Linked DNA regions of Homo sapiens: regions 1, 2 and 3 are each linked to region 4. The links are contacts of gene promoters, found by promoter capture Hi-C in blood cells and fetal thymus (Javierre and others, 2016). All regions are on one chromosome and are shown on one strand. Each heading gives the region's core, a stretch centred on a gene start or on the middle of the fragment in contact. The rest is flanking DNA. Distances are from core to core; before and after follow the strand shown.

Evidence for each region. Contacts are between HindIII fragments. The CHiCAGO score rates a contact against its expected background, and 5 or more counts as called.
Region 1: the fragment with the promoter of TBC1D10B here is called in contact with the fragment with the promoter of RABEP2 in region 4 in 1 of 17 cell types (fetal thymus); the score reaches 8.6 in fetal thymus.
Region 2: a contact is called between the fragment with the promoter of C16orf92 here and the fragment with the promoter of RABEP2 in region 4, in 1 of 17 cell types (monocytes). The highest score is 5.0, in monocytes.
Region 3: a contact is called between the fragment with the promoter of RNF40 here and the fragment with the promoter of RABEP2 in region 4, in 5 of 17 cell types (non-activated CD4 T cells, activated CD4 T cells, total B cells and 2 more). The highest score is 10.6, in non-activated CD4 T cells.

What each region holds. Positions count from the first base shown.
Region 1 is chr16:30,366,152-30,373,016 of GRCh38, forward strand. TBC1D10B (TBC1 domain family member 10B) reads right to left here and starts at 4,343. Exons shown (of 9, transcript NM_015527.4): 1 at 3,077-4,343. The coding sequence starts at 4,032. It also overlaps a transcript of MYL11 not described here. RefSeq lists silencers at 3,769-3,848, 3,939-4,228. The HindIII fragment of the contact is 4,560 bases long and covers 1,398-5,957 here.
Region 2 is chr16:30,021,486-30,028,724 of GRCh38, forward strand. It overlaps C16orf92 (chromosome 16 open reading frame 92), which reads left to right and starts at 1,713. Exons shown (of 4, transcript NM_001109659.2): 1 at 1,713-1,919; 2 at 2,242-2,400; 3 at 2,514-2,601; 4 at 2,721-3,219. The coding sequence starts at 1,856. The coding sequence ends at 2,742. It overlaps TLCD3B (TLC domain containing 3B), which reads right to left. Exons shown (of 5, transcript NM_031478.6): 3 at 5,124-5,358; 4 at 4,241-4,336; 5 at 2,942-3,982. The coding sequence ends at 3,698. It also overlaps a transcript of DOC2A not described here. RefSeq lists an enhancer at 6,995-7,239. The HindIII fragment of the contact is 16,537 bases long and covers 1-7,239 here.
Region 3 is chr16:30,760,140-30,767,366 of GRCh38, forward strand. It overlaps RNF40 (ring finger protein 40), which reads left to right and starts at 2,183. Exons shown (of 20, transcript NM_014771.4): 1 at 2,183-2,221; 2 at 2,336-2,538; 3 at 2,979-3,146; 4 at 3,279-3,420; 5 at 4,040-4,246; 6 at 4,799-4,920; 7 at 5,042-5,188; 8 at 5,286-5,360; 9 at 6,024-6,143; 10 at 6,240-6,419; 11 at 6,602-6,737. The coding sequence starts at 2,407. It overlaps PHKG2 (phosphorylase kinase catalytic subunit gamma 2), which reads left to right. Exons shown (of 10, transcript NM_000294.3): 10 at 1-1,037. It overlaps CFAP119 (cilia and flagella associated protein 119), which reads right to left and starts at 1,923. Exons shown (of 9, transcript NM_001014979.3): 1 at 1,406-1,923; 2 at 1,059-1,090; 3 at 467-529; 4 at 145-314. The coding sequence starts at 1,609. RefSeq lists enhancers at 1-1,047, 1,012-1,161, 1,752-1,931, 1,887-2,524, 2,012-2,271 and 3 more and a silencer at 1,246-1,475. The HindIII fragment of the contact is 4,015 bases long and covers 1-3,820 here.
Region 4 is chr16:28,923,416-28,931,010 of GRCh38, forward strand. RABEP2 (rabaptin, RAB GTPase binding effector protein 2) reads right to left here and starts at 1,823. Exons shown (of 13, transcript NM_024816.3): 1 at 1,688-1,823; 2 at 988-1,200. The coding sequence starts at 1,748. RefSeq lists enhancers at 955-1,044, 1,075-1,304, 2,283-2,866 and silencers at 1,465-1,684, 1,715-2,064. The HindIII fragment of the contact is 8,433 bases long and covers 1-3,751 here.

The DNA of each region.
Region 1 (6,865 bases), core at 3,093-5,592, 1.4 Mb after region 4:
AGTTCAAGGCCAGCCTGGGCAACATAACGAGATTCTGTCTCTACAAAAAATAAAAATAAAATAATAAAATAGGCCGGGCATGGTGGCTCCCACCTGTAATCCCAGCACTTTGGGAGGCCGAGGCAGGCGGATGACTTGAGGTCAGGAGTTTGAGACCAGCCTGGACAACATGGTAAAACCCTGTCTCTACTATAAATACAAAAATTAGCCAGGCATGGTGGCACGTGCTTGAAATCCCAGCTATTCGCGAAGCTGAGGCATGAGAATCGCTTGAACCCGGGAGGCGGAGGGTGCAGTGAGTCAAGATTGTGCCACTGCACTCCAGCCCAGATGACAGAGCGAGACTCCATCAAAAAAAAAAATAATAATAATAAAATAAAATACAGAACAAATGTACTTCTGTCTCTTTAGACGCAACCATCTGAGTTTTGTCCTATCAAATGTTTAAGATCCCTTGGGTCACCTGCAATTTACTCTACCTCCTCCTCCCTGAAATCACCCCAGGCAAATAAAGGACTCCCTGCCCTATTTACTCACTGTTCTGTCAGAGGTTCATACTCATGGTGCCCCATCATTCTTCAAACACTTACTTGTAGGAGCCAGTACTAGGAGGTGAGTAGAACGGAAGAAAGCTTGGGTCTTAAGAATCAAACCTACCTAAGTTCAAATTTCAGTTCTGTCTCTGAGACAATAGGGAGCTTTGTCAAGGGATGACCTGAGTCCCTTCCTCAATTATAAAAAGACACCACCGGGCCGGGCATGGTGGCTCATGCCTGTAATCCCAGCACTTTGGGAGGCGGAGGTGTCAGAAGTGAGAAGCGGATCACCTGAGGTCGAGAGTTCAAGACCAGCCTGGCCAACATGGTGAAACCCTGTCTCTACTAAAAATGCAAACTCAGCCGGGTGTGGTGGCACATGTCTTCAATCCGATACTCGGGAGGCTGAGGCAGGAGAATTGCTTGAACCTGGGAGGCGGAGGTTGCAGTGAGCCAAGATCGCACCATTGCACTCCAGCCTGGGCAACAAGAGCAAAACTCCGTCTCAAAAACAAAACAAAACAAAACAAAACAAAAAAAACACCACCACCACCTACATCACAAAGTTATGAGAAGACTATTGAGAAACTGCATATAAACATCTGTTAAATAGAAGGGGCTCGTTAAATGTTAGTTTCCTTTGTTCTAGAAGCTCCTTAAACAGAGAGACCATCTCTCATTAATTTCTATCATAAGTCGGTTACAAACTCTACCAAGGGCTGGGAAGAGTAAGATACCTTCTGGCCCTCAAGAAGGTTACAGCCTAAGAGGAGCGATAACTGTAATACAGCATGGGAAATGCAATGACAAAGATGCACCAAAGACACATCTAATTGGAGTGGGGGCAGTGGGTATCAGGGAAGCTTCCTGGAGGAGGGGACATCTGAGGTAAGCCATGAAGAAATGAGTAGAACTTAGCAGGCAAAGAAAGGGGAGAAGAGCACCCTTGGCAGGTGCACAGCCTGAATATGAAGGGGAAAGGACTACAACTAGTTCAGCAGGACCACAGCGCAAAGCACCCGGTGAGGAATGGTGGCAAAGGTGACCAGAGAGGCTATGCGCAGGCCAAAGAGCCTGAACTTCATCCTGTGGACAGCAGCGAGCCACTGAACGCTGCGAAAGTAACATGGATTACAGTCAGTCTTGCCCAAGAGGTAGAGTTCTCTGGCATTGAAGCTGATCTTACAGGGACAAAGCTACAAAGCAAAGAAACAGCACCCGGCATAGTGCCTGGCACACAAGAGGGACTCCCCCAAACTAAGTTCAGCCCGAGTTCCTCAGGACAGCCTGCTATTGAGGAGAGAGCCACTGGTCACACAGATCCAGATTATTTGAGGGGGACAATTCACTCAACTGCACTAATTGTTTCTTCATCTATAAACCGAGTCCTTGTGCCTAGAAAGCACCAGGGTCAAACCTCAGTTGCTTTCCCATGTAAGACCCTGAATGTTGGTACCCAATCAAAGGCTTTCTGATTTTGGTTGGCTCATGAACCCTGCCTGGAAAACTCTCCCACAGGGCTTCCCCCGATCCCTGCACACATAGCCAAGACTAAATCAATCCTACTTACTCTCCACGATTCAGAGCAGGTTCAGCTGACTCCCTGCTCTAGGTGCCTCAGGAAACCCTCTGGAGATCTCTAGGCTAAACCCGAGGTCTTCTATTGAAACCAACTGTTTAAGTACTTTTCTTTCTCTCCAGATGATTGGCTCCTTGAAAGGACTATTTTATCCTTAGCACCTGGGGCCTGACACCTGGGGGCCCAGGAGATGCTGTAGGCTGACTGGCCCAGCAGGTCAAAGGGGCACAGGAACAACGGGCAGGATCCAGAGAGGGGGAAGGAAGAAGTCAGAGGCAATCACCCCCTACCTCGGGAGTGACTCAGGCCCCGGAGAGAACTAGGAAAGAGTCAGCCCGGCTGGGGAGATGAGGAAATGGGGAAGAGGCCTCTCCCACCCTTTACTTCAGTGCAGATACAAGACTGCCCTGTTTCACAGCGGGATCCTGACTGCACAGTCTCCCTTCCATCAGCCAGACTTCCCCACCTCTCTACTCCATCCCTGGGACCTAGGGCTATGGGGGAAGGGAGATGCCTGCACCCCTCCCAGGCTATCCACCCTAAGGGACCAAGGGTCTCTACCAGAACCCTCGCCCAACCAACCCTCCAGAATATCCGGCCTGTAGCTGGAGTTCCCCATCAAAGAGCAGGGATGACCTCAGGTATCATCTCATTCAATCCACTTTATAGAGGAAAAAACTGAGGCACGGAAATGGGGAAGCCACTAGCTCAAGGGCACACAACCCATCAAAGGCAAGGCTTAAACCCAGACCTCTTGACCCCTGGTCTGAAACTCCACTAACATGCCAATGTCACAGGCACCTCAGGATGCTCAAGACACGGCAGCTCGCGCTGATCACCCCGTGGATCCTCAGAGGAGGCTGGGCTGCCAGAGTCTGGGCAAAGTGTATCGTTTTCGTTTCGCCCTCCCCCAACCTTTGCTTCCCCGAGGCGGTCCCGCTGGGTGCCCACTGGTACTCACAGGCTGCCCGAGTACTGGCTGCCCCCAAGGAAGCCATACTTGTCCGTCTTGCGCAGGGCCAGCCCGTTTATCTCTGAATCTGAGCCCATGGAGCTCACATCATCCGCCAAGGACTCCAAGGTCCCAGACATGAGGCTCACGGAGTCCAAGTAACTCAGCGTGTCCGGGGCCTGCCCTCGAGGCCCAGAGATGCCAGGTCCCAGGCTGGACGTGGAGCCCAGGTCTTGAGAGTTTTCAGCAGGCTCCGGAGCTGGGGTCACGGTCACGACAGCTACCGGAGCCTCACAAGTCCCAGAGGGGCCTGTGCCAGGGCCTGAGGGGTCCTCAGGAGCCTGTCCTGCTGATGCTGATGTTGCTGCGGCAGCTCCATGCCCACCTGTCACTTGTCCTGATGCACTCCGTGCAGTCACTCCTGAGGCCACTGTGGTTCCCGGCTTGGGGGCAAGCGGGGGTTTGGCGGTCAGGGCACCAGGAGCCGTTCTGGAAGGGGTCCTGGTAGGGGTCCCGGTGGGGGTCCCTGGTCCTGGGGCGGGTGAGGGTCGAGCCTCCTCTGTCTTCGGCGAGTCTGCCCCTGCGGCCAGAGCCCTCGATGTCTCAACTCCAGCCACTGCCGCGGGCTCTGGGGATTCCGGGCCGGAGGGGAGCTGCGGCTTTGGGGCTTCGGGCGAGGCCTCCAGGGTCAGCACCACCACCGTGCTGCCCGTGACAGCCGGGGCTGGGGCCGGGGCTGGGGCCGGGGCCGGAGCAGAGGTCTCGGCCGACCCCGGGACCCAGGCGGGCCGCGCCTCCCCGGGGGCCACCAGGGTGACGGGGGCCGAAGTGGCCGTAGTCACTGGAGGTCCCGGAGCCACCACCACGACGGGCCCGGCCCGGGAACCCCGGGGCGGCGGCGAGGGGGCCGCGGGGGCGCCATGACGGCGCGGCGGGGCCACCAGGGGCGCCGTGCCCGTCTCCATGGCCGCGGGCCGCCCCTCACATCCCCCCGCCGGGGAGGCCGCAGAAGGCGCCGCCCCTCGGGCCTCCCGGCGAGGCCAGCCGAGAAAGGGGAGAGGGCGAAGGGCGCGGCTCGGCGCGCGCCGGGGGCGGAGCGGCCGCTGGGCGCGCAGAGGCGGGGCAGGGGTCGGGGGGCGCCGCGCGCCGGGGTCTCTCTCGAGCCCTCTCACCCCCTCGCGCGCTCTCGCCACCGCCCCCTCCCTCCTGCTTGGGGGCGAGCCGCCGACCTCGCGCCTGCGCACACGCCGCAGAGCCGGCTCCGCGCCAGCGTCTCGGCGTTCCACGCCTGCGCGCGGACTGGCTCATCGCGCTCCTTTTTTCTCCCGCCTAGTCAGAGGATTTGGACGAATAGTGGGAGAGAGAGAACTGGGCTTCTGCCAATCGTTGGAATCGTGGGCGGGGCTGGAGGCGAAAAAGGGGTGGGTCATCTGGAAAGAGGAAACGGAGAAAGCTAGGGCTGTAAGACCAATCAGAGGACGAGGAAAGGCAGGGGGCGATGGGACGAAAGAAATAACCAATAGAAACGCAGGGGTCTGAACCTCCTGGCCAATGAATATGACTGAAGGGTGAATGACCGCGGAAGGGCGGAGGAGGAGGCAGGGCTGTGCGAGTAAGAGGTGGGGCCTGGAGGCTTCTTAACCAATAGGAATGGTAAAAAGGGAGCCAATGAAAAGGGGAGCAGGTGGAGGTCAAATTGACAGGCAGTGATGTCTATTTAGGCGGTGACAGACAGCATCCGCAGTCAATAGGAAGAGCTGAAGAATTCTTTAGGTCTCCCAAAATGGTCAGTAAGGAATGACAGCTGGGAGGAGGCGGGGCAAGCTAGAGATTAATTCGCCCCGTCAGCCAATGATCGTGTTCTCCCACTTTGGCCACAGGACAGGAAAATAGATAGCTGTCTCAGCCAATGGGAGCATCCAAAGGGCAAAGATGCTGCCAGCAGGCGGTGCCAGCCCAGGGATAGTCGGTGACAACCGGAGACAAGCCTTATGGGAGGGTGACAGCTGGGGACAGCACGGAGAAGGGGCGGGGGCATTAGTGCAGCCCTCAACCAATGAGTGCCGCGCTGCCCCCTCTCGAGTCCTTTCCGGTCCCCTATTCTTCGTTCAGCTCCTGAGCCCCACACTCTGGTGGTCTGTGGGACCCTGAGCCCCACCACAGATCCAGTGCCCTGACCCAGTACTCTCATCCTTTACTCTATAATTCTCCGATCTCGGCCCCCAACTAACCCCAACACTCCAGGCCCAGGTGGCAATAGCCAGAGCCCCCAGATCCTATAAGCAACCCATATCTCTGCTTCACCCATTTCCTGCGGGAATCCCAACCTCCAAGTCCCTCTCCTCAGTTCCCATCTATCTGAGCTCCTCCCCAGAACCCAGGCTCCAGTTCCTCAGACCTTATCCCTCTGAGTACCCCCTCCATTTCTTCTAGTGGGGATCTCAAACCCCAAATCCATGAATCCCTAATACCATGAACTCCCCATATGTGTGTTACTATTCTTTTGGGGATCCAAGGCCCCAGTCCCGTCAACCCCTCTCCCCTCACTGCCACATCCCTCTGTGCTCCTCATGTTCCACTGAGAATCCCGACCTCAATCTCATGAGCGCTCCAGGTTGTCCTTAGATCACAAGCATAAAGACCTGACGTTATGAGCTCCAACCTTCCAACTTCTAAACGCCCTCTTCTTTCTCTGACCCCCATATTCTGATTTCCATATAGCATCCACCATCCTGGAATTCCAGTGAGACCTAGCTCCCGACTTCTCAGCTCCTCCTTGGTTTCTGAGTCCTCTAAGGTCCCTCACTCCCAACTCAGCCCCATGTCCTGTCAATTCCCACTCAGTGTCTGATCTCCTTCTCCTCACCTTTCCCATCTCCCGTTTGACCCAAGCTTCCTGAGCTCTCCTCCCATTCCCCTTTTTGGAGTCCTCCTCCTCTCCCAGAACCCAGTAATAAGTGGGCTCCTCCCTGGCCTGGACCCCCGTGGTAACCCTATAAGGCGAGGCAGCTGCTGTCTGAGGCAGGGAGGGGCTGGTGTGGGAGGCTAAGGGCAGCTGCTAAGTTTAGGGTGGCTCCTTCTCTCTTCTTAGAGACAACAGGTGGCTGGGGCCTCAGTGCCCAGAAAAGAAAATGTCTTAGAGGTATCGGCATGGGCCTGGAGGAGGGGGGACAGGGCAGGGGGAGGCATCTTCCTCAGGACATCGGGTCCTAGAGGGAGCGGGAGGAGAAGGAGATGGTTGTCCTTGCCAACTTGGGGCTTCCTCAGCCACTATTTTTCCAGACTTCTGCTGCATGGAGGGGACTGGGTCACTGAGGCCCAGAGGGAGAAGAGAGGGTACATCAAAGTCACACAATCAGCCAAGCTGGCTCTTGGCCAGAATAAAGTGAGCTGCCACTGGCTATCAAGGCACCTCACAGAAAGTGACCAGCTGGCTGTCCTTTTAGGGTCTTTTCCTCCCCTCTTGAGTTCCAGCCTCCACACCAGTACCCAGAGAAAATATTCTAGACTCATACTAGATCACATCCTTCTTCTGCATGAAACCTTTCCAAGGTTCCCCAGGGTCTCCGTCCTGTGCCTGGCAAAGGCCCCTCAGGGGCTGGTCACCAGCCCCATCACAATTCTGGCCACCTGAACACTTCTGATCTTCCGCTCTCCAGGCCTTTGCTCAGGCCATGCCCTCCGCCCAGCACATCTGCTCCTCCACCTGCACCTGACTCCCTGGCCCTCGTGAAGCCACTCCCATACTCCTAGACAGGGCTGCTGCGCCCTCCACTTCTGGGCTCCTGACCAGCTCTG
Region 2 (7,239 bases), core at 463-2,962, 1.1 Mb after region 4:
AGAGGAAACGGAGGTGCAGGGAGCGGAGTCTGCGAAGGACGCGTGGATGGCCAAGAGATGTGCCTCGGAAAGGGCCGAGGGACTTCCTCTGACCAACCCCCGACGGCCATTCCCAGCCATCCGTTTTCCTGCAGCCGCGGATGCAACCTGTGGAAGAGGCGGGAGGAGGCCCGGGAGTCCGCCCCGCTGCGCCTTTCCTAGGGTGGGAGCGTGGACTCAGGCGCGGCCGCTGCTGCCACCTAGTGGGAGACGCCTGCTACTCCTCTCGGTTCCTAACCCCAGGGTCGTTCCCGGCTGAGCACTAAGGAGGGGGCGGGGGAGGACGGAGAGAGCCCTGTGCCCCTGGATCTGCGGATAGGATGCAAGGGGGAGCCTCAGAGAGGAACCCCCCCCCCAGGAAGTGTGCATTGCCCACACTACTTTTCCCCTCTGTGCCGTGATTTCCTCCCGTGTATAAGGGAGGCAAGAGTACCTGCCTCTGGGCTGGGCTTGGTGGCTCACGCCTGTAATCCCAACACTTTGGGAGGCCGAGGCAGGCGGATCATCCGAGTTCAGGAGTTCAAGACCAGCCTGGCCAACATGGTGAAACCCCATCTCTACTAAAAGTACAAAAATCAGCCGAACAGTGATGGTGCGCGCCTGTAATCCCACTCCAGGAGGCTGAGGCAGGAGAATCGCTTGAACCCAGGAGGTGGAGGTTGCAGTGAGCTGAGATTGTGCGTCTGCACTCCAGCCTGGCGGACAGAGTGAAACTCCATCTCAAAAAAAAAAAAAAAAAAAAAAAAAAAAAAGAGTACCTGCCTCTGAGGGTCAGTGCAAGAGCAAATGAACAAATTTGTGCAAGGTACTTGGCCATAAATGGGGTCCAGCCAGCATAGTAATAGGTGTTCAATAAATGCTACCTGCTGGGCATGGTGGCTCATGCCTGTAATCCCAGCACTTTGGGAGGCCGAAGCTGGAGGATCACCTGAGGCCAGAAGTTCGAAACCAGCCTGGGCAACATAGCAAGCCCTCATTTCTACAAAAAATGCAAAAATTAGCCGGGCATGGTGGCACATGCCTGTGGTCCCAGCTACTCAGGAGGCTGATGTGGGAGGATCACTTGAGGCCAGGAGTTCAAGGCTGCAGTAATCATACCACTGTACTCCAGCCTGGGTGACAGAGTGAGACCCTGTCTCTGAAAATACATAAAATAGGCCGGGCGCTTTGGGAGGCCGAGGCGAACAGATCACCTGAGGTGAGGAGTTCAAGACCAGCCTGACCAACATAGTGAAACCCTGTCTCTACTAAAAATACAAAAATTAGCCGGGTGTGGTGGCAGACAGATAAAAGGAAGGGATTTATCCAAAGCTGTAATCCCAGATACTCAGGAGGCTGAGGCAAGAGAATCACTTGAACCCAGGAGGCAGAGGCTGTAGAGAGCCAAGATGGCGCCACTGCATTCCCACCTGGGTGACAGACAGAGACCCTGTCTCCAAAAAAATGAAAATAAATAAAACAAATGTTACCTGTGGTTGATCCAAGGGGTAACCGGAGGTGTGTGGCCCTGTGCCACCACCCCAAATTGTGCCTGTTGTCCAAACACAGCTTCCTTTAGTTCGGGCTTTCAGCAAGATGGCCGTGCCGCATCCCTCCTCTTTGTAAATGCTGGGGCTGCCACCATTATGGTTTTATCATCAGCGACATTCCAGGGGGTGAAGACTGGTCCCAACCTCTCTTCTCCTCTCCTCTTCTGATGAGAGTGAGGGATGGGGGAGGGGTCCCAGCTCCTAGCACTTTCTCCCCTCACCCCAAAGTGCCATCAGAACAGCTCTGGGCTGTGACATCACAGAGCCCCCACCTCATGATAGGAGTCATGAGGCTGTGGCCATGGGTGCTGGTGTGGGTGTGGCTGGCTGCACTAGGGGCCATAGAAACTGGTAAGAAGCTGTCTTGGGAGCAGCAGGAAGGCAGGCAGCTCTGGGAGCATAAAGTGTGATGCCCACTTAGGGACTCGGAAGCCAACCCTGCACCCTCTCATTTTCTCTCCACTCTTCTCTCCCATCCTGCTGGTCCCACCTACCCCCCAACAACCGCGAGCCTTGTCGTGGTGCACCCAGCTGACCCTGAGGGAAATCAAGACCCTCCACAGCCTCTGCAATAAGGCTGGGTGGTCTCACAGGGTCCCAAGTCAGCTTCCGCCTCGAGAGATAAAGGCAGGGGTCAGCTTGGCTGTTGTCACAGAGTTTGCTTGGGTCCTAGCACCCAGACCCAAGCGTGCCACGGCGTCAGCCCTGGGGACAGAGTCTCCGCGCTTCTTAGACAGACCTGACTTCTTCGATTATCCGGACTCAGACCAAGCCAGGCTGCTGGCTGTGGCCCAGTTTATTGGAGAGAAACCCATCGTGTTCATTAACTCAGGTATGAACCAGCTTGAGAAGGGACCTCCCTCCCCGCCAGGGTCTGGAGGAGAGCAGCCCCAGACCCTTCATTGGGCCATCAGAGGGGAGTTAAGGGTCCTGTTTGTCTAGCAGGTTCCAGCCCCGGGCTCTTCCATCACATCCTGGTGGGCTTGCTGGTGGTGGCGTTCTTCTTTCTCCTTTTCCAGTTCTGCACCCACATGTAAGGCCTGCCCCCTTTCTCCAACCCCACCCACCACCACCTTCCTTGGGAGCGGCTGAAGACCCCAGTTCTAGCGGGGCAGGCTGTGACCTCTCCCCTCTGATCTCCATGCCCCACAGAAACTTCCAGAAAGGGGCCTAAAGAGCCGGACAAGGGCTCTGGACTCAACCTGAGCACCCACACCCACCTCCTCTCCTGTTGATGAGCAAAAGTTCCCTGCTTTCCTCCTCCCTGACTGCCCAGCGAGCAGCTGGGGATCCTGTCCCCTCTGTTTCCCATGGCCCAAGCCCCCCACCTCCTCCCTTCCCAGCCCCAAAGAACTTGGTGGCAAGGGCCTTGGTGGCGTTCACGCAGATCGTCTTTTATTAGCGGTCTGTAAAGCACCTCCCAGGGTCCCCCGACCCCAGATTGGAGGAAGCCTTGAGAGGTCAGTAGCACCAGGGACATGGCAGGGCCCGAGGGCGCGATGTGCAGCCGATGGTGAGGGACTGGGCGCCCTCGCCTGCCCCCGGGGTTGTCAGCACTGGGAAGGCTTGGGGGTAGCAGCCACCTCCTTCCCCCAACCCAACAGACTAGTTCAAATTTGGGTAAATAAATAAAATAAATAAGATTCCTCAAGCTGGCCTACCCTGGAGAGGAGCCGTGGTTGCAGCCGGCCACTCGGGAGGCCCGAGGGCCAGCGGGGGTTAGTTGGGGCGTCCTCTCCTCTCGGGTGATGGGGAGCCCTGGGGGATGGCAGCATAGGGGCTGGGATGGCCTTGGCAGAGGCGTCTCCCCACATTCTGACTCCTGGTCCCCTTGAAACCCTGTTGGTGTCCCTCCCCACAAGCCCTCCTGCCCTCAGTGGGTGGGAGGCGGTGCCCCCTCCCCTCCTCCAGCGCAAGGGTGTGCAGGAAGGGGGCAGAGTAGGGGGAAGAGGTCCCCTCTCTCCACCCCCTCAGTCCCCGAGAGATGGGGCCTCTTCCCTTTCGGGGTCATCGTCAGTCCTGGGGTTGTCCGGGCAAGAGGACCCTGGCTCCCAACCCCAGCCATCAGCCCCAGAGCCCTGTCTCCACGGGGGTGGGGGTGGGGAGGGGGAGGGTCCCGGCCCCCGGCCTCAGTCCTGGGCCTGGCAGGCCGGGGGCGGCCGGGAGCGGGGCCAGAAGAGGCGGCAGGCCCCACGGCAGATGAGGAAGAACCAGTAGAGCTGAGGGGCCAGGAGCAGCGCAGCGCCCAGGTTGACGTGGGCAGGGATGGCCAGGGGCACGGCCAGCAGGGGCAGGCCGGCATGGCGCCCGTAGGCCCAGTACAGGTAGGGAAAGAGCAGCACCCGGCAGCAGAGGAAGCTGAGCAGCATCAGGGCCCCGTTCACCTTGTGCAGCAGTGTGTGCTGCTGCTTGTACTGAGGAGACACAGACACAGTGGCCACGGCAGCAGAAGGGCTCGGCCCCCCTTGGCCCTCTCCCTGCCTCCCTGCGACCCTAGCAGGCAGCTCCTCCCAAACCAGACACTTTGCCAGGACACAAGCACCAGGTGCTCAAAATGCACGGGGTGAGGGGGGGATGACGAAGGGGCTAGAGCCCTTGGCAGCAACCTTGAAGGTCCCTCCCCTTCCTGTGACCTCCCCATTGGGCTCCTGCACCCTCCCATGCTCACTCACCTGGATGAGGATCTTGCCAAGGCAGACGAAGGGCGTGCTGACCTCTGCCATCAACATGCAACCCAGAAAGAAGTCTCCCTTACCCTGTCGCCACACCTGGGCACAGAGGCAGGAAGGTGAGGAGCTGGGGCTCTCCCTGGGTTCTTGGGCAGCCCCCGCCCTTCCTCTTTCCCCTCTGTCACTTTGGGAGATGCTTGACTCTGAACATCAGAACACCTGGGTGCAGGGCTGGGTGCAGTGGCTCACGCCGGTAATCCCAGCACTTTGGGAGGCTGAGGCAGGTGGATCACGAGGTCAGGAGTTTGAGACCAGCCTGGCCAACATGGTGAAACCCCGTCTGTACTAAAAATACCAAAAAAATTAGCCAGGCGTGTTGGTGGGCACCTGTAATCCCAGCTACTGGGGAGGCTGAGATGGGAGAATCACTTGAACTCAGGAGGCGGAGGTTTCAGTGAGCCGAGATCACACCACTGCACTCCAGCCTGAGTGACAGAGAGAGACTCCGTCTTGGAAAGAAAAAAAAGAGAAAGAACACCTGGGTGCAGGAGCAGGTGCATGACTTGGCTGCATCCCTCTCACGGTCCTGCAGAAAGACTGTGTCCCTTATGTAACAGGTGAGGAAACTGAGGCTCAGAGACGTGCAACCACAAATCCAAAGAGCCACAGCCGGGCATCGTCCAGCCCAGGGCCAGGCTGCCCCCACACCCTGGTGCCCTGGGCTGGTGCTCAGTGAACCCTGCCTGTCCACAGCTTTCCCTGGGAATACGCTGGGTCTGCTTGGTTGTCAGTACGCAGACCCGGGGCTTCCCAGGCTCCTGCCAGCACCAGCAGGACCAAGGAGCAGGCCACCCGCACCCCGCCCGCCCAGCTCCCCGGGACTCACCACTGAGAGTGGGAAGCACACCAGCACCATGGCGGCATGGTGGAGCACCATGAGGAACTCCTTGTGCAGGTAGCCACGCGCTATGGCCCACGTGCTGCCCGGGGCTCTGGCCGCTCCGTCGTCCCCTCCATGCCCTTTGACCTGGTGCTTGTGCCAGTGACAGAGGAACATGGCGTAGATGTCGTAGATGAAGTAGGGCACAGCAAATTGCGTGTAGGCAGAGGACAGCCAGTGTCTGTTGGGCAGAGAGACGGGGTGGGGGAGCAAGGAGGAAAGGGGACACCAGTGATTGGGGTCAGATCTCAGGGGTCAGCACAGCAGCCCTGGACAGGAGCGGAGTCTTGGGTACAGATGAGGGATCCAGAGGGTAGAGGGTGAGAAACTTGCCCAAGGTCACACAGTCATGCAGCTAGTAAGAGATGGTGCTGGGATTCAAACCTGTGGTCTCAGAACTCACCCATGTTCCTCTCTCTCTGCAGTATAGTCGGGGGAAAAGAAAAGACCAGAAGATGCCCACAGACCAAAAGGCACAGATACAGTGCCAAAATAAGCCCAGGACAGGCAGGTGGGACCTTGCCATGGTTATTTGTCCTAACCTTACCATGAGGTTAGGACCAGCAACAGCTGAAGGGGCGAGAGTGCTGGAGAGAGAGGTCACAGGGGTGGACGCCCATTCCTGCCTCCTGGGACAGGCGATCTTCCAAACTTCCCATGCATAGCCTTATTTACCCCTCCCAAAACCCTGTAAAAGGTAGGTGTGGCCATCATCCCCACTGTACAGGTGAAGAAGTGAGTCACAGAGGGGCTAGGTAACCTGGCCAAGGAAGGGACATGGGCGGTGTGGCTCCACAGCCCTCACTGTCATCCCCACCATCCCCAGAAGATCCGAGAGGCATCAGAGACAGACCCTGTTGGCAAGTGAGAGGTCTTGTCAGCGCTGTTCGCCCTGCCCCAAAGTCACCCAATCTCTTGTCTATTTTGTGTTGTTTTTCAGGGACAGCCAAGCGTTAAGGGGAAAATGCAGAGCAAAAGGAGCCAAGGACAAAGAAAGTTCCATGTACTTGGAGAGTAAACAAAAACGAGAAATGGATGAATAGACAAGACAGCATTTTTCTTCTGGAGTCAGCACATTGGCAGTTTCTCTTAAATCCTGTAGTCCCAAGACTGGCCTGGGGTGGGGGCAGGAGGTCAGAGAGGCAGGACCTGGGGTGCTCGCCCCACAAGGGGTGGAGGGATGAAAGCAGAGTCAGCCAGAAGCCATCACCAAACATGAGGCACGTGGAGGAGGCTGTGGAGAAGTTGGGGCTGAGGCCTCTGAGGATGGGGAGCCTGAGGCAGGCGGCCTGTGAGTGGAGCCAACCCATTCTCCAGCAGGGACGGTACCAGGGAAAAGGGAACCTGAGACTGGTGCAGTGGTGTGGAGCTGCGGCCCAGAGGCAGGGAAAGATGAGAGGGGAGGGGCAGCTGTAGAGAACGCGAAGCGGGAACACAGGGAGAGAGGTCCCAAGTGGCCTGGAGGAGTCAGGGCAGGAAGCTGCCCAGAATGCAGGCCCAGCAGAGGTGATGGGAGATGGGACAGCTGGGCTGGTGCAGGAGACCAGGAGGGGCCACCAGGCCCTGGGCTGTCATGTGAGGTGTTAGATCCCATCCCCACCCTCTTGGCAATTAGGTGCTCAGAAGTAGGAACAGCTGCTGCCCTGGATTAACCCGGATCCTCCCCACCTACCTGAGGATTAAAGCAGGGAAGACGGACAGGAACAGACACAGGGGGGCCTGGGGAGCAGGGGGTACAGAAGCTAAACGGTGACCTCTGCATGTGAAGGCTGGGGAGGAAGTGCTGGATCCCAGGCTCAGCTTGGAGCAGGGGAGGGAAGGGGTGGGCAGAGGCCAAGAAGCAGCCAAGTCCCTGGGCGGGGTCTGAAGAAAGAGTTAAGCCAAGAACTGTCCTCTGCAGCTGCCACTTAACTCAATTCCTCTCGCTGAAGCCCTTCCAGGAAGGGCCGCTGCCTCACCACAGAAGAGGCAACTCATCTTCGGGAAAAGAGGAGGCAAACAGAAACAGGGCACCCCCCATCAGGGGCGTCCAAATGTTCCCTGGGACTCAGTGGCTGCCACA
Region 3 (7,227 bases), core at 933-3,432, 1.8 Mb after region 4:
AAGCTGATGGCTTGTGTATGATGATGCTACTAATAATGACATATTCCAGGCAGAAATCCCCTGCTTCTGCTTCCCATGGTCACTTGTGCCAGGCCCGGTTCCTCTTCTCCCTGGGGCTCAAACCTGGTAGCTGCCCCCTCTCACCAATACAAGCCTTGTGAAGATCCTGGAGCAGGGCACAAGCCGCTGACGTCTGCTCCAGTGAGAAGCCCTGCTGGCGGCAGAAAATGAGCGCGTGGCAGAAGAGGTCCAGGGTGATGGCGTCCCTCAGGCTCTGCTCAGGACACCCTAGCTCCAGCAGCTCAGCCAGCACCCTTGGGAGGGAGAGAGGAGTGAGTGACAACTGGGCCTCCTTTCATCACCCTACACCCACCACATGCTTTGGAGTCAGCCATTCCTCATGTTTTCCCAACCTGACCCCTCAGCCTTTGCCAAGAGCTCTTCCCACGCCCCCCTCAGTCCCTACTCCCTCATCTCAGCATTGGTGGTCTTCTCCAGCTGGTGCATGGAATGGACGTCCAGGTACTTCCTGTTATAGTAAAAGAAAAAGAGTATTGGTGGCCGTTACCTATCATGACAAGGCTGTGACAGCTAGTGCGTGAGACTGGGAGTTGGCCACCGGCGTGAAGCTGGGCTCTTTTGCCAGCTTGCTGTGTGACTATGCAAATCGTTAACTCTCTGGGCCTAAATGAACTCTTATGAGCCTCTCCATTTCTAAAGCCTAGGGTTAGGAATCTTGAATTCTTTTTTCTGCTCTGCCACTACCTTGTATGACCTTGGTCAAGTACTCCCTGTGGCCCTCAGTGTCCCCCTCTGTACAATACTCCTTAGCGGCCATGAGACTCCATTTACATTCTGTCTTTGGCTCTTTTTTTCTCACACTGCCTCCTCTTTGGACTGGAGAGGCTGGAAAGCCAACTTCCAGTCACCTGGAGTAATTGCATCTCCAGGCCTCAGTCTCATCTGTAAAATGGGGATGCCCTGGCCACAGACAGGACTGTTGGGGAGACAATAAAGAACGCAAATATTCAGTGTAATTTTTGTCTCTTCACACTCACCACATGCAGATCCGGGGTCGGGGCAGCGGCGGCTGCGGAAAGAAAGCGAATTGGGGAAGGCAGCTGCGGTGTCCTGGCCCGTAGCGAATCTCCAGCAGGCCGGAGAAGCCGCTGTAACTTGCCATCTCATCTCAAGGACTAAGGAGAGGCGCGGGCGAGGGAGGGCTTCAGCAGGCCCTAGGTGCTCTACGCGAGCACAGTAACCACCGGGGTCACACACCCCTGCCTCTCCTCGCCCAAGCAGCCCGGGAGACGTCCCGAACGTTAGTAAGCATAATGACAGGTGGCGCCTGCGGGGGAGCCGGTTTATAAATATTCACGAGCAGACCAGACTGTCCCGCCCTCACCGGAAACAAGTTGGCTCCGGGGTCTTCATCCGCTTTCGCCGCCGCCGCCGTCGTCCACTGAGTCCGCACACTCGCACGCGTCCGCGCGGCCGACCCATGCACTGAGCTGCGATCCTTCCCCGCTTCCCGCCGCAGCTCGGAGAGATGTTCAAGCTCCGACTGCACCCTCATTCCCAAAAAGTGGCTGGTCTTGCGGTTGAGCATCTCGCCGCTCTTCCGTGCCGCGAGGCGCCCCGGGCTCCCGCCGCCTAGGTTCCAGGACAGCCAGCGCTCGGTCGGCGGCTACCAAGGCCGGGCCCGTTCGCCTCGCTCCGGCCAATCTACGCGCGGAGAGGCGCGGCGGGGCGAATCCGTGGGGGCGTCTCCCTCCGTCTCAACGGCGACGGTTGCCAAGGGGGCTTGTGAGGGAAGGAAGGCGGAAAGCGCAGGCTCACGCCAGTGGGAGCGAAGAGAACGCGCAGATACGTGAGAAGTTGCGAGTGCCCACCTGGGCGCCCTCTCTTCCAGGTTGCTAATACGAGGGCCGGTGCTGTCCTCCAGGCTGGGAAGTGGGAGCGCGGTGTCAGTTACTATGGGAACTGCCTCTTGGCCAATCACCGAGAGAAAGAGGAGGTGTTTGGGAAGAAGCCAGAGGACCCGAGTGGCGGGACCAAGCGTAACCAATAGAAGCAGAAGATAAAGAAGTTTCCTCACATCCGGGGCTGCCTTTGGCGCCTGCGCCCTGCGCACCGTTGGGGGGGGGGCAGTGGCGTCCAGTGACGCCCAGTGACGTCCGGTGAAATCCAAGATGGCGGCGCTAGGCTGACCCTCCTGCTGGTGAGGGCTCTGGCGCCGGGGGGGACGGGATCCAGCAGGTGTGTGCAGGGTGGAGGGTGTTTGGGGCTGTGGAACACCAGCCGTTCCCACATCTCTGCTCTGTGTCTTCTGCAGGTGACGGAAGTACCGCCTCCTCCCGTTTGACGCCCCTCAGGGGACCCTGCATCGCTCCAGCCGCCGCGGCCATGTCTGGGCCAGGCAACAAACGCGCCGCCGGCGACGGGGGCTCAGGGCCCCCGGAAAAGAAGCTGAGTCGTGAGGAGAAGACCACCACGACTCTTATCGAGCCCATTCGTCTTGGAGGCATCTCTTCCACGGTTCGTGGGCTCTTGCCTTAACCCTCAGAACTTCCCAGAGCCCTCCCTCTGTTCTCTGGCCAAACTGTGCGGAATCTTACACCCACTTCCCCAAGTTTAGCAAGGTCCGCGTTACAGGACCTTGAAAGAAAGGTTAGAAAGAAGCTCAGAACACGACGCCTGTCTTCCCTTTACAGATAGGAAAACAGGTTTCCAGGGGGCGTGTGACTTGTCAAAGACTAAGGATTTACAAGGGGACAGGCAGAAACAACGTGAGCCTCCTCACAACAAAGACACTTTCGCTGTGTGTTGTCTGAGCCTCCTTAGATTCTGTTAGCGGTTAGTGTGGGAATACCTCCATCTCCCATGCATTGCAGATGCTCTGCTCCTCTTTCTCTCTCTGTGATTGGTTTGTGGGCCCTGCTTGACGCTCTCGTCGGCCCCTTTGTTTCCTTTGGTAGGAGGAGATGGACCTGAAGGTACTACAGTTCAAGAACAAGAAACTGGCAGAGCGGCTGGAACAACGGCAGGCTTGTGAAGATGAACTCCGAGAACGAATTGAGAAGTTGGAGAAGCGGCAGGCCACAGATGATGCCACACTCCTCATCGTCAATCGCTACTGGGCCCAGGTGGATACCTTCTGCTTTCAAAGACCAGGCCTTGATTCAGCTGCCAATCCCCAGATTCCCCTGCTAGGAAAGGAGTATCATGTTGGAAAGCACTAAGGGATTCATAACATTTTTGATGTTTTCTCCTTCCAGCTGGATGAAACTGTGGAAGCCCTTCTCCGATGCCATGAGAGCCAGGGGGAGCTGTCTTCAGCGCCTGAGGCACCTGGGACCCAGGAGGGGCCAACATGTGATGGGACTCCTCTCCCAGAGCCGGGGACATCAGAGCTGAGAGGTAGGACCAGAGTGCTGGGATCTGGGGAGCTTAAGTTCTGGGAGAAGTCCTGGGGAGGAGGGGACTTTGGTGTTGGGCCCCTGAATTGCCTATCTTACTACTTCTCACGAAATGGATTTCATGTTTGGGCAGTAAAGTGCAGTGCACAAAAACACAGGCTTTAGACTCTGACTAACTTGGTTTATAGAGCAATTCATGTTTTGACACCCATTTGTTTCAAAACAGTATTATGGTTGAGTATTAAATATGTATTTGACGCTTCCTAGAAATGAGTGTTGCACTTGCTATAAGGGAGGAAATTATAAACATAGTAAGCAGAAAGTACTGGGGCTCCTGAAACGGAATGATTGTGTGTGCATGCATGTGCGTGTGATTCTAATTATATTGGTAAAGTACAGGAAGCTTCCCTGAGGATGTGATACGCAACTCTGTAGCTTTGAGGAAATTACTTTACCTCCCTGAATTTCATTTGTCTCACTTTCAGGATGGAGATAATAGTGCACTATAGGTTGTGTTGATTAAGTGAACCATGAGTATTGAAGGGCTCAGTCTGGAACTTGGTACAGAGTGGTAGTAACTGCTGCTCTTATCCTCATGAGGGTCTGTCCATTCCTTCCAGACCCCTTGCTGATGCAGCTGCGGCCCCCTCTCAGTGAGCCGGCCTTGGCTTTTGTGGTGGCACTGGGTGCCAGCAGCAGTGAGGAGGTGGAGCTGGAGCTGCAAGGCCGAATGGAGTTCTCCAAGGCAGCTGTGTCTCGTGTGGTAGAGGCCTCAGACCGCCTACAGCGCCGGGTGGAGGAACTCTGTCAGCGAGTGTACAGCCGAGGTGGGTTCTTTGTGCCCATACTGAAGGGGTGTCCATCCCCACCTGCATCTTGATGGCACCCCTTCCTGATTCCCCTAATGCCCGAGTCCAAGGGCGGCCAGAATTTCCCAAGGAATAAATCAGCCATGTTCTTGGAAGAGGTAGGTTAGGCTGTAGATGGGGGTTCCAACTTTGATTCCGGGATTGAATGCTAGAGAGATGGGTTGGAGGAGTTGTTGATGCCGGTAGAGGCTCCTGGCCAGAGGCCCCTCTGGAGCACTTGGTGTGGGTTGCGGATCCACAAGGCATAGCTTCAAGGGCTCAGGCCTTGTAGGTTGACAGGCTTCTCCCACCTTAGTTCTGCCACCCTCACCTGGACATGCTGGGAAAGTGGCTCCCCTCTCTGAGCTGGTTTCCTTCTCTGTGCAGTGGGGATAAAGACTCCTGGCTTTGTCATGAGAAATGGGCAAGACAGCTGGTGGATCACACTGGGTATATAGCAGACTCCAGAATGAGTTAGTTGTTTGCCCCATTGCCCTGAGCTGGGCTCTTACCTGGGCCCTGCCTTCCCAGGGGACAGTGAGCCCCTCAGTGAGGCGGCTCAGGCACACACCCGAGAGCTGGGCCGTGAGAACCGGCGACTGCAGGACTTGGCCACTCAGCTGCAGGAGAAACACCACCGCATCTCATTGGAGGTGAGGAGCCGGGGGCTTTGGGGGTGTGATTAGAATCAGGCAGGATTTGGGTTAGATGGGCACTCAGGGACCTCAGGAACCAAGTCCCCCATCCAAGCATCTGCTCCCTCATTGTTCCCAGTACTCCGAGCTCCAGGATAAAGTGACATCGGCAGAGACCAAGGTGCTGGAGATGGAGACAACAGTGGAGGACTTGCAGTGGGACATCGAGAAGCTGCGGAAGCGAGAGCAAAAGCTCAATAAGCACCTGGCAGAGGCCTTAGAGCAGGTGGGGCAGGGGTGCTGGGGCAGGTGAGGCAAGGCTGGGCCCTTGGGCCTTAGCTCCTCCCCTCTACATCCATTGCCTGTCTGTTTTCTCTCCACAGCTTAACTCTGGCTACTATGTATCTGGGAGCTCCTCAGGCTTCCAGGGGGGCCAGATCACACTCAGCATGCAGAAGGTGAGCGGCGTTTTCCTCCCACCCCTTCTCACAACCTCTTCTCTGTTGCACTCTTGAAATTCCCCTCAGGACAAAGGACAAACATCCATCTCTGAGGCCCTTCCTGGTCACTCCTGCTGCTCTTTTTTTCATGCATTCATATACTTGTTGAGTAGATTTTTGAACACTTAGTGCTAGGCACTAGGCATATTGGCGAGAACAAAATAGAGGTCAAAACTTTCATGGACCAGACAAGAAATAAATAAAAGAATATATCTTTAGGTTCTACTTGTGGTAACAGACAAGAAATCAGTAAAATAGCATATCAGTGTGTTATGAGTACCACAAAGATAAAGCACAGAAGAGAGAGCTAAGAGTGAGTTGGAGTCAGTTGGCATCTGGTGGTCACTGTGCCCTTTTTCCCTTTATTAGCACTTTAGGCCTTTCTGGAATGCCTTCCGTGACTCCCCATCAGTTAAGAGCCTTAGTTCCCAGCACCGACCATGCAGTATTGAATTTTCTCCCATTTTTCTGGGAGCCCTTAGGAAAGTACTTGGTTTGGGGTGTCAGAATCGATCATTGCCCTGCACGGGGTGCTTGGGGTGGAGTGTATGCTGGGGATGTAAGGGAGGCCTGCTGCCACGTCTGGCCCTGCCTCCCATGGCCCTGCCTCCCACTCCTTAGTTTGAGATGCTGAATGCAGAGTTAGAGGAAAACCAGGAACTGGCCAACAGCCGTATGGCAGAGCTGGAGAAACTGCAGGCCGAACTTCAGGGGGCTGTGCGGACCAATGAGCGCCTCAAGGTGGGCTGCTGTAGGGGCTGAGAGGTCCTGGGCCTGTAAGGGAGGGACTGAGCCCTGAATCCTGTTGCTGATCCCATTTGGGCATCCCTGCCCCAGGTGGCCCTGCGGAGCCTTCCTGAGGAGGTAGTGCGGGAGACGGGGGAGTACCGCATGCTGCAGGCCCAATTCTCACTGCTCTACAACGAGTCTCTGCAAGTGAAGACCCAGCTAGACGAGGCTCGGGGCCTGCTGCTGGCCACAAAGAACTCCCACCTGCGACACATCGAGCACATGGAGGTATGGCCCTGGAACAGGCGTTAGGGCTGGGCTAAGGGCCAAACCGTTAGTGTTGACGTGTTTGTGCCTTCCGAGGCCCTGTGTGCCAGCCAGGGGTCCCTGGGGAATAGATTCTTCCTAAGATACTGAGTCCTGAGGTGGGACCGAGGGGCTGTGTGGGTCCTTAACACATCAACCCACAGAGCGACGAGCTGGGGCTGCAGAAGAAGCTACGCACAGAGGTCATTCAGCTGGAGGACACGCTGGCCCAGGTACGCAAGGAGTATGAGATGCTGCGCATCGAGTTTGAGCAGAATCTGGCGGCCAACGAGCAGGCGGGTATGTGGTGAGGATAGGGCGGAGGTGGGGCCTTATCTGGGAGTGCTGGGCCCTGGTGTGGGGCTGCTGCTTATCCAGATGCAAGAGGCTAAGGCCTTTTTTTTCACAGAGCCTCGGCTTCCTATGCAAAACAGGGCCTGCACTGCTTGGCTCCCAGGCACAGTGAGGGTCCGCCAGCTGGGGTGGCTGATGGAGCAGGCACATGCAGAGTCTGAGCTGTCAGCCCTGTCCTCATTCTTCTGGTCTGATGACGTCTCTGTCTCTCAGATACTTGTGTTACAAAGATTTATCAAATGCCACCTCTGAGCCAGGCTCTGTTCTAGGGTTTGGGGTTATGCCAGTGAACAAAACAGAATTCCTGCCATGTGGAGCAACATTCTGATAGAAGACAGACTAGAGGAAGACGAACTAGTAGAAGAAAAATGGAAAATGTGTTAGCTCTTGACAGATAGGAAAGTAAAGCAGAAAAGGAAGATAGGAAGTATCAGGA
Region 4 (7,595 bases), core at 573-3,072:
TATTGACTCAAGAAAAAAAAAAAAAGCTAGCTATTGTTATTATTTAGGACACACCTGGCTTTTCTTATATAGTAGATATAACAAGTTTCCCTTAATAAATGTATGTAAACTTTTAAAATGTGGATCTATTTAAAGAACAAATATTAAGTAAACAGCACAGTAAGTTGTACAAGGATGTGTCTACATTGCACAGGCAGGTGGATCCTGAAATGTGGGAAATACAGCCCCAGAGAAGTCTCCAGCCACCAGCAGCTGTTAGAAAGGGAAATCGCATGTTGGGAAGGGAATTTTAGGAAGTTTACTCTGGAAGCCAATGTCAAGGCCACACTATAGAGGAAGATCTGTGAGAAGGTTGGGACAAAAGTCCAGGAGAGAGTTGACGAGAGCCCCACCGCAGCAGGGGCATAGCAGCGGGGGCAGCTCTGACATCTGTTTCAGAGTCTCTGGCTTCTGCTAGAGGAAGGAGAGTAGAAAACAGGATCAGCAGCTGGGGCGTCTGGGGCCAGAGGACCAAGTACAAAGAACGTGGGGCGGAGGTGGGGAAGCTGGTGCATGGCGTGGGGTGGAGGGGGGAGTGTCTGGGGAAGGCTAGAGAGCAGAGCATTAGACTCACAGAGACTGGGCCAGGGCTGATTCTATTTCCCAGAAGTCCAGACTAAAATGAGGTTGGTTTGGGGAACTGAGAAGTTTCTCGCCCATCTTCAGGGTTGATCAATCATCAGTGAGGGACAAGAAATGACATGGGACAAGGCAACAGATAGAAGCTGGGAGCTAAACTTAGCTATAACTGACAGAGCTGCTGCTATCACATGGAGGGCCTCTATGCAAATTTTAAAAGGGCGGCCCTTCCTCTGGGCCATAGGCATGCCCTGTGCCAGGCAGCCCTGCTAACCTATCCCATAGCTTATCTGTGCCCCCAATCCCTTTCTCGTCATGCACTCCCCAGTATGGGGTTGATGGGGAGTCTAGGTGAGTCCCGCGTCTCACCTTTCAGGATGGCCTGCAGCGAGGCCACCTCCTCTTGGCACTGCCGCTGCACCGCAGCCACAGCCTCGGCCTTCGTGCTCTCGCTCACCTCTGCCACAGCCTTCATGGTTTCCATTTCTGCCAGGGCGCCTGCCAGCTCAGCCCGAAGCCGGCTGAGCTCACCTGACTCGGCCTCACCATTTGCCCCTTCCTGGGACCGGGAGTCCTCCAGTGCTGTGGGGGACAGGGATCAGCCTCTCTTCCCATCTCTTACCCCAGGCCACCTACCGGCTTAGCAAGTCCTGCAACCTAGTACTGTTGCCTTCATCTGGGGCCTCCTTCACCTGGGCCCGCCCGGCTCACCTGGCCCCGCCCCTGCCCCGCCCCCTTCCCACTCGCTCTGCCGGGTGCTGCCTACACTCCATCTCTTCGCGGTGGCCAGTTTCACTCAGTCCTCTCTTCGGTCCCACCTGGCCCCGCCCTCCTAGTGGCCGCGCCCCTTCCTCACCGGGCCCCACTTCGCACCTGTCACTGGCCCTACCCCTTCAATGGCCGGGCCACGCCCCCTTTTGCCTGTGGCTGTAGGCCCCGCCCCCTTTCCCGACGGCGTGGCCCCGCCCCTTCCTCCATCATCCCTCTCCACCCCCCATCCGCAGGTGGCTGGCTCGGCCCCGCCCCCAGCATCACCGTTCCCCGCTTGCACGGACGCCCCCTCACGTACCAGCCCCCGGCCGCCGCCGCCGCTCATCGTCGTCCGCGGCCACCGGCGCAGCTGCCGCCATTGCCTCAGCGCAAACGGCGGATTCCCGCACTCCCTGGTGACGGAGCGCACCGCTTCCGGGTCCTCTCGGCTGTTTCCGGATCCGCTCGGCTGTTTCCGGATCGGCCCCGGGCTGGAGGCCCCGGACGGAGGATGGGGGGATTGCCGAGCCTCGGCCGAAGATTCCCGAGTCGGCCCCCGGCCCCGGCCCCGGCCCCGCCCCGGCTCTTCTTGGCTGGGTCGCGCGGTTCGGGAGGACGCCTGCCTTTCAAGCCCGGAAGAGGATCCTTAAGAGGTCTTGCCCGGCGTCTCTCCGTGACCTTGGAAGCCCTGCTCCAATTATGCCTCCTCCGGGACACCGGCCTGCGGAGAGCTCCCCCTCGCTCCCTCGCTGCCCCTGCCCGGAGCCAGCCTTTGATCGGCTCCGGCCGCCCTTCCGCCCGAGCCTGGCTTGCGTTACCGCGAATTGTGGCGGGGCCCTCCCTGCACCTCCGCCCTCTTGGAGCGTCCCTCGGGGCAGGGCCGGGTCGGCTTCATTTTTCTGAGCGCCTCGGAGTCCCCGCGTAGTTAGTCGGAGTCTGAAACTTGCACGTCCCCACCCCCATTTTGTTACTCAGCCAGTCACCGCTTCCTGCTGGCCCCCCTTTCCTCCTCCCAACGCCCTCAAATCCCTCCTCTCCTCTCCGCCTGTGTCTAGATCAGGCTCTTTATCTGTGACCTCCACCCGGACGGTGACAGGCAATTCAGATTTATGTCCAGAGCCTTGGTTCCCCTTCCCTCAAACCTTTTTTCCCTCTGTAAAGGACACGCCAGGAACCTGGAAGTCCTTGATTCTACGTGTCCTCCTGCAAGTCCCGTAAACTCTACTTCCAATGTGCTGACTATTCCAGAATGTGCCCCTTTTTCTCCATCTCCAGCGCTAACACTCCGTCCCAGCTCCCATCACTTCTCCTGAACTTCCGCAGTGTCGACTCCACCCTTTAATTAATTAATTCTCCGTAAAGCAGCTGGAGCGATTTTTGTAAAACAGATAATGCAGTTTGAAAATGGCCAAAGGTAGAACGCTTTTACACTGTTGGTGGGAATGTAAATTAGTTCAACCATTGTGGAAGACAGTGTGGTGATTCCTCAAAGACCTAGAACCAGAAATACCATTTGACCCAGAAATCCCATTACTGGGTATATACCTAAAGGAATATAAATCATTCTATTACAAAGATACATGCACGAGTATGTTCATTGAAGCACTATTCAAAATAGCAAAGACATGGACTCAACCCAAATGCCCATCAATGATAGACTGGATAAAGAAAATGTGGTACATATACACCATGGAATACTATACAGCCATAAAAAGGAACGAGATCATGTCCTTTGCAGGGACATGGATGAAGCTAGAAGCTATTATCCTCAGCAAATTAATGCAGCAACAGAAAGCTAAACATGCATGTTCTCACTTATAAGTGGGAGCTGAACAATGAGAACACATGGACACAGGGAGGGGACCAACACACATGGGGGCCTGTGGGGTGGGTGTTGGGAGGGGGGAGGGAGAGCATCAGCAAGAGTAGCTAATGCATCCTGGGCTTGATACCTAGGTGATGGGTTAATGGGTGCGGTAAACTACCATGGCAGATGTTTCCCTGTGTAACAAACCTGCACATCGTGCACATGTACCCCAGAACTTGAAATAAAGAAAATGGACAAAGGATATGAACGGATATTTCACTGCTGTCACAGGTGGCAATATGTGCATGAAAAGATGTTAAACATCATTAGCTATTTATTCGGGAAATACAAATTAAAACCACAATTGCTTTCATCACTACGCACTTCTTGGAATGGCTAAAATAAGAATGCTAACACCAAATGCTGGTGAGTATGTGGAGAAACTAGGTTTCTCATATTTTGTTGATGGGAATGTGAAATGGTATAGCCACTCTGCAAAAAGAGTATGGCAGTTTTGAACAAAACTAAACACGCACTTACTTTTTCATCAAGTATAAAACCAAGTGTTTTCCACCAAGCTTGGAGCTGAGGTCTCGGCTCAAATGTTACCTCCTCAGTGAGGCCTTCCCTGATCACCCTAACTAAAATAACCACCTCTGGCTGAGTGTGGTGGCTTATGCCTATAATGCTAGCACTTTAGGAGGCCAATGGCAGGAGGATCACTTGAGCCCAGGGGTTCGAGACCAGCCTGAACAACATAGTGAGACCTCATCTCTACAAAAAATTAAAAAATTAGCTGGGCATGGCCGGACACGGTGGCTCACGCCTGTAATCCCAGCACTTTGGGAGGCTGAGGAGGGCGGATCACGAGGTTAGGAGATCAAGACCATCCTGGCTAACATGGTGAAACCCTGTCTCTACTAAAAATACAAAAAATTAGCCGGGCATGGTGGCATGCGCCTATAGTCCCAGCTACTTGGGAGGCTGAGGCAGGAGAATTGCTTGAACCCGGGAGGCAGAGGTTGCAGTGAGCTGAGATCATGCCATTACACTCCAGCCTGGGCAGCAGAGCAAGACTCTGTCTCAAAAAAAAAAAAAAATTAGCTGGGCATGGTGATGTGCATCTGTAGTCCAAGCTACTCAAGAGGCTGAGGCGGGAAGATCTACTTGAGCCCTGGAGGCTGAGGCTGCAGTGAGCATGATTGTGCCACTGCACTCCAGCCTGAGGGAGAGAAAGACCCTGTCTAAAAAAAAAAAAAAAAAATTAAATCCAGACTCCCTGTGCATGCAGCAGGGTTTCTGGGGAAGGGGCTGAAATAATGACTAGAAATCAGCCTCCAGTCAGTTTGGGGAGGGCCTTCCTGACAGCTCTCAGGTTTGAGTTTATCCTGCAGGCCCTGGGAGCCACTGAAGGCCATTGAACAGGGGAAGCACATGACTAACATCAAAGAAGTTCTCTTGACATGCGGAGTGTAGATGGGAACCAAAAGATATAGGGGACAGGGAGCCCAGGAGAGAGGCTGTTGAATTGCTTCTGATTGTGAAGGAAGGATTCAGAGGGGAAAATTGATTCCATCAATATTTAGGATATAAAATGGACTGGCCTTGATGATAGAGTGCATGTGGGGGAAGAGAAAAGAAAATTTCGACCAGATGCGGTGGCTCATGCCTGTAATCCCAGCACTTTGGGAGGCTGAGTTGGGTGGATCACCTGAGGTCAGGAGTTCAAGACCAGCCTGGCCAACATGGTGAAACCTTGTCTCTACTAAAAATAGAAAAATTAGCTGGGCGTGGTGGTGCGCACCTGTAATCCCAGCTACTCAGGTGGCTGAGGCAGGAGAATCACTTGAACCTGGAAGGCAGATGTTGCAGTGAGCCGAGATCGCATTACTGTACTCCAGCCTGGGCAACAAGAGTGAAACTCTGTCTCAAAAAAAAAAAAAGAAAAGAAAATTTTCTTTCAGCTAGGTACGGTGGCTCATGCCTGTAATCCCAGCACTTTGGGAGGCTGAGGCAGGAAGATTGCCTGGGCCCAGGAGTTCAAGACCAGCCTGGGCAATATAGTGAGAAAGGAGAATAAAAGGAGCTTTCCTCGCCTCTACAAAAAAAGGGAGAGAGTTTTCTTCCTAACTTCTTTTCCTTTTTTTTTTTTTTTGAAATGCTCTTGTCTCCCAGGCTGGAGTGCAATGGCGCGATCTTCACTCACTGCAACCTCCGCCTTTCAAGTTCAAGCGATTCTCCTGCTTCAGCCTCCCAAGTAGCTGGGATTACAAGCGCGCACCACCGCACCAAGCTAATTTTTGTATTTTTAGTAGAGATGGGGTTTCACCATGTTGGCCAGGCTGGCCTTGAACTCCTGACCTCAAATGATCCGCCCCGCTCAGTCTCTCAAAGTGCTGGGATTACATGAGCTACCTTGCCTGGCCCCTAACTTCTTTTCTTTCCTTTATCCAGCAAATACCTATTGAGTGTCTACTAGATGCCTGTGCACATCTAGGGATGGTAAAGATTTCTGTTCTCAAAGAACATTCTGGTGCAGGAGGCAGATGAGAAGACTAGCAAATACACATGCATAATTTGAGATTGGGGCAAGTGCTGGGAATGAAATAGGGGCATGCGATCAAAAAAGCATGTGAGTAAAGGGAATTTGAGAAGGTTTTCTTTTTCTTTTTTCTTTTCTTTTCTTTCTTTTTTTTTTTTTTTTTTTTTTGAGACAGAGACTCTGTCATCCAGGCTGGAGTGCAAAGGTGCAATCTCGGCTCACTGCAACCTCTGCCTCCCAGGTTCAAGCAATTCTCCTGCCTCAGCCTCCCGAGTAGCTGGGATTATAGGCATGAGTTAATTTTTTTGTATTTTTAGTAGATACTGGGTTTCACCATGTTGGCCAGGCTGGTCTCATTCTCCTGACCTCAAGTAATCCACCCGCCTCAGCCTCCCAAAGTGCTGAGATTACAGGCATGAACCACTGTGCCCAGTCTTTTTTTCATATTTTTTGTAGAGATGGTGTTTCACCATGTTGCCCAGGCTAGACTTGAACTCCTGGGCTCAAGTGATCCTCCCACCTCAGCCTCCTGAGTAGCTGAGACTACAGGTATGCACCATCATGCCCAGATACATTTTTTTTGGTATTTTTAGTAAAGACGGATTTCTCCATTTTGCCCAGGCTGGTTTCGAACTCCTGGGCTCAAATGATCTGCCCACCTGGGCTTCCCAAAGTGCTGGGATTACAGGCGTGAGCCACCGCGCCCAGCCGAGATATATATATATATATATATATATATATATATATATATATATATATATAGAGAGAGAGAGAGAGAGAGAGAGAGAGAGAGAGAGAGAGAAAGAAAGAGAGCAGGCTCTTGTTGCCCAGGCTGGAGTGCAGTGGTGCCATCTTGGCTCACTGCAACCTCCATCCCCCTGATCCTCCCGCCTCAGCCTCCCAAGTAGCTGGGACCACAGGCATGTGCCACCACACCCAGCTAATTTTTTGTATTTTTGGTAGAGATGGGTTTTGCCATATTGCCCAGGCTGGTCTCCAACTCCTGAGCACAAGCAATCTGCCTGCCTTGGCCCCACAAAGTGCTGGGAGGTGTGAGTCACCTCGCCTGGCCTGAGATATATTTTTTTAAATAATAATATATAGATTTTTGAAGCACTGGGGGGCACAGGGAAGGCCTCTTTGAAGAAGTACCATTTGAACTGAGACCTAAGTGATGAAAAGAACCAGTCCAGCAAAGAACCAGAGCCCCCAGCAGAGATCCAGGAAAAAGGGCTGCAAGTGCAAGGGCCCTGAGGCAGGGAAGCACTTGGCAAGGAGAGTGGTGGAGGCACGAGGTGGAAAATGTAGGTAGGTCAGCAACACTCGGCCTACTAGGCCTTGGGTTGGAGTTTTTATTTTAGCTAGATGAAAAGCAACTGACATTTTTTGTTTTTTAAAAAATTTCTATAGAGATGGGTTCTCGCTGTGTTGCACAGGCTGGTCTCAAATTCCTGTCCTCAAAGGATCCTCTCGCCTCGGCCTCCTAAAGTATTGGGATTACAGGCATGAGCCTCTGTGCCTGGCTGTAACTGACATGTTTTAAGCAGGGGAATGACATGCTCTAGTGAAAGCCAGTCTGGGCAGCTGGGTAGCTAATGAGGGGATTAGAGAGATTTTGTTGAATGAAAGGCAGATTGAGTCCTGCTACTCGCCCCCTTCATTCCCCTTCATTCATGCCTCATTCTTCCGCCTCCCAGCCGCCTCAACTGGCCAAAGGGAAGTGGAGGCCCTGCCACCTGTAGGGAGGGTCCCCTGGGGCTTGCCCACAGCAAACAGGAAGTCACAGCCTGGTGAGATGGGCCTGGGAATCAGCCACTGAGAAAGTGGGTCTCTTGGGTCCCTGAATTCTTTTTCTGAGTCCCTGCAGCAGTGAAAAAG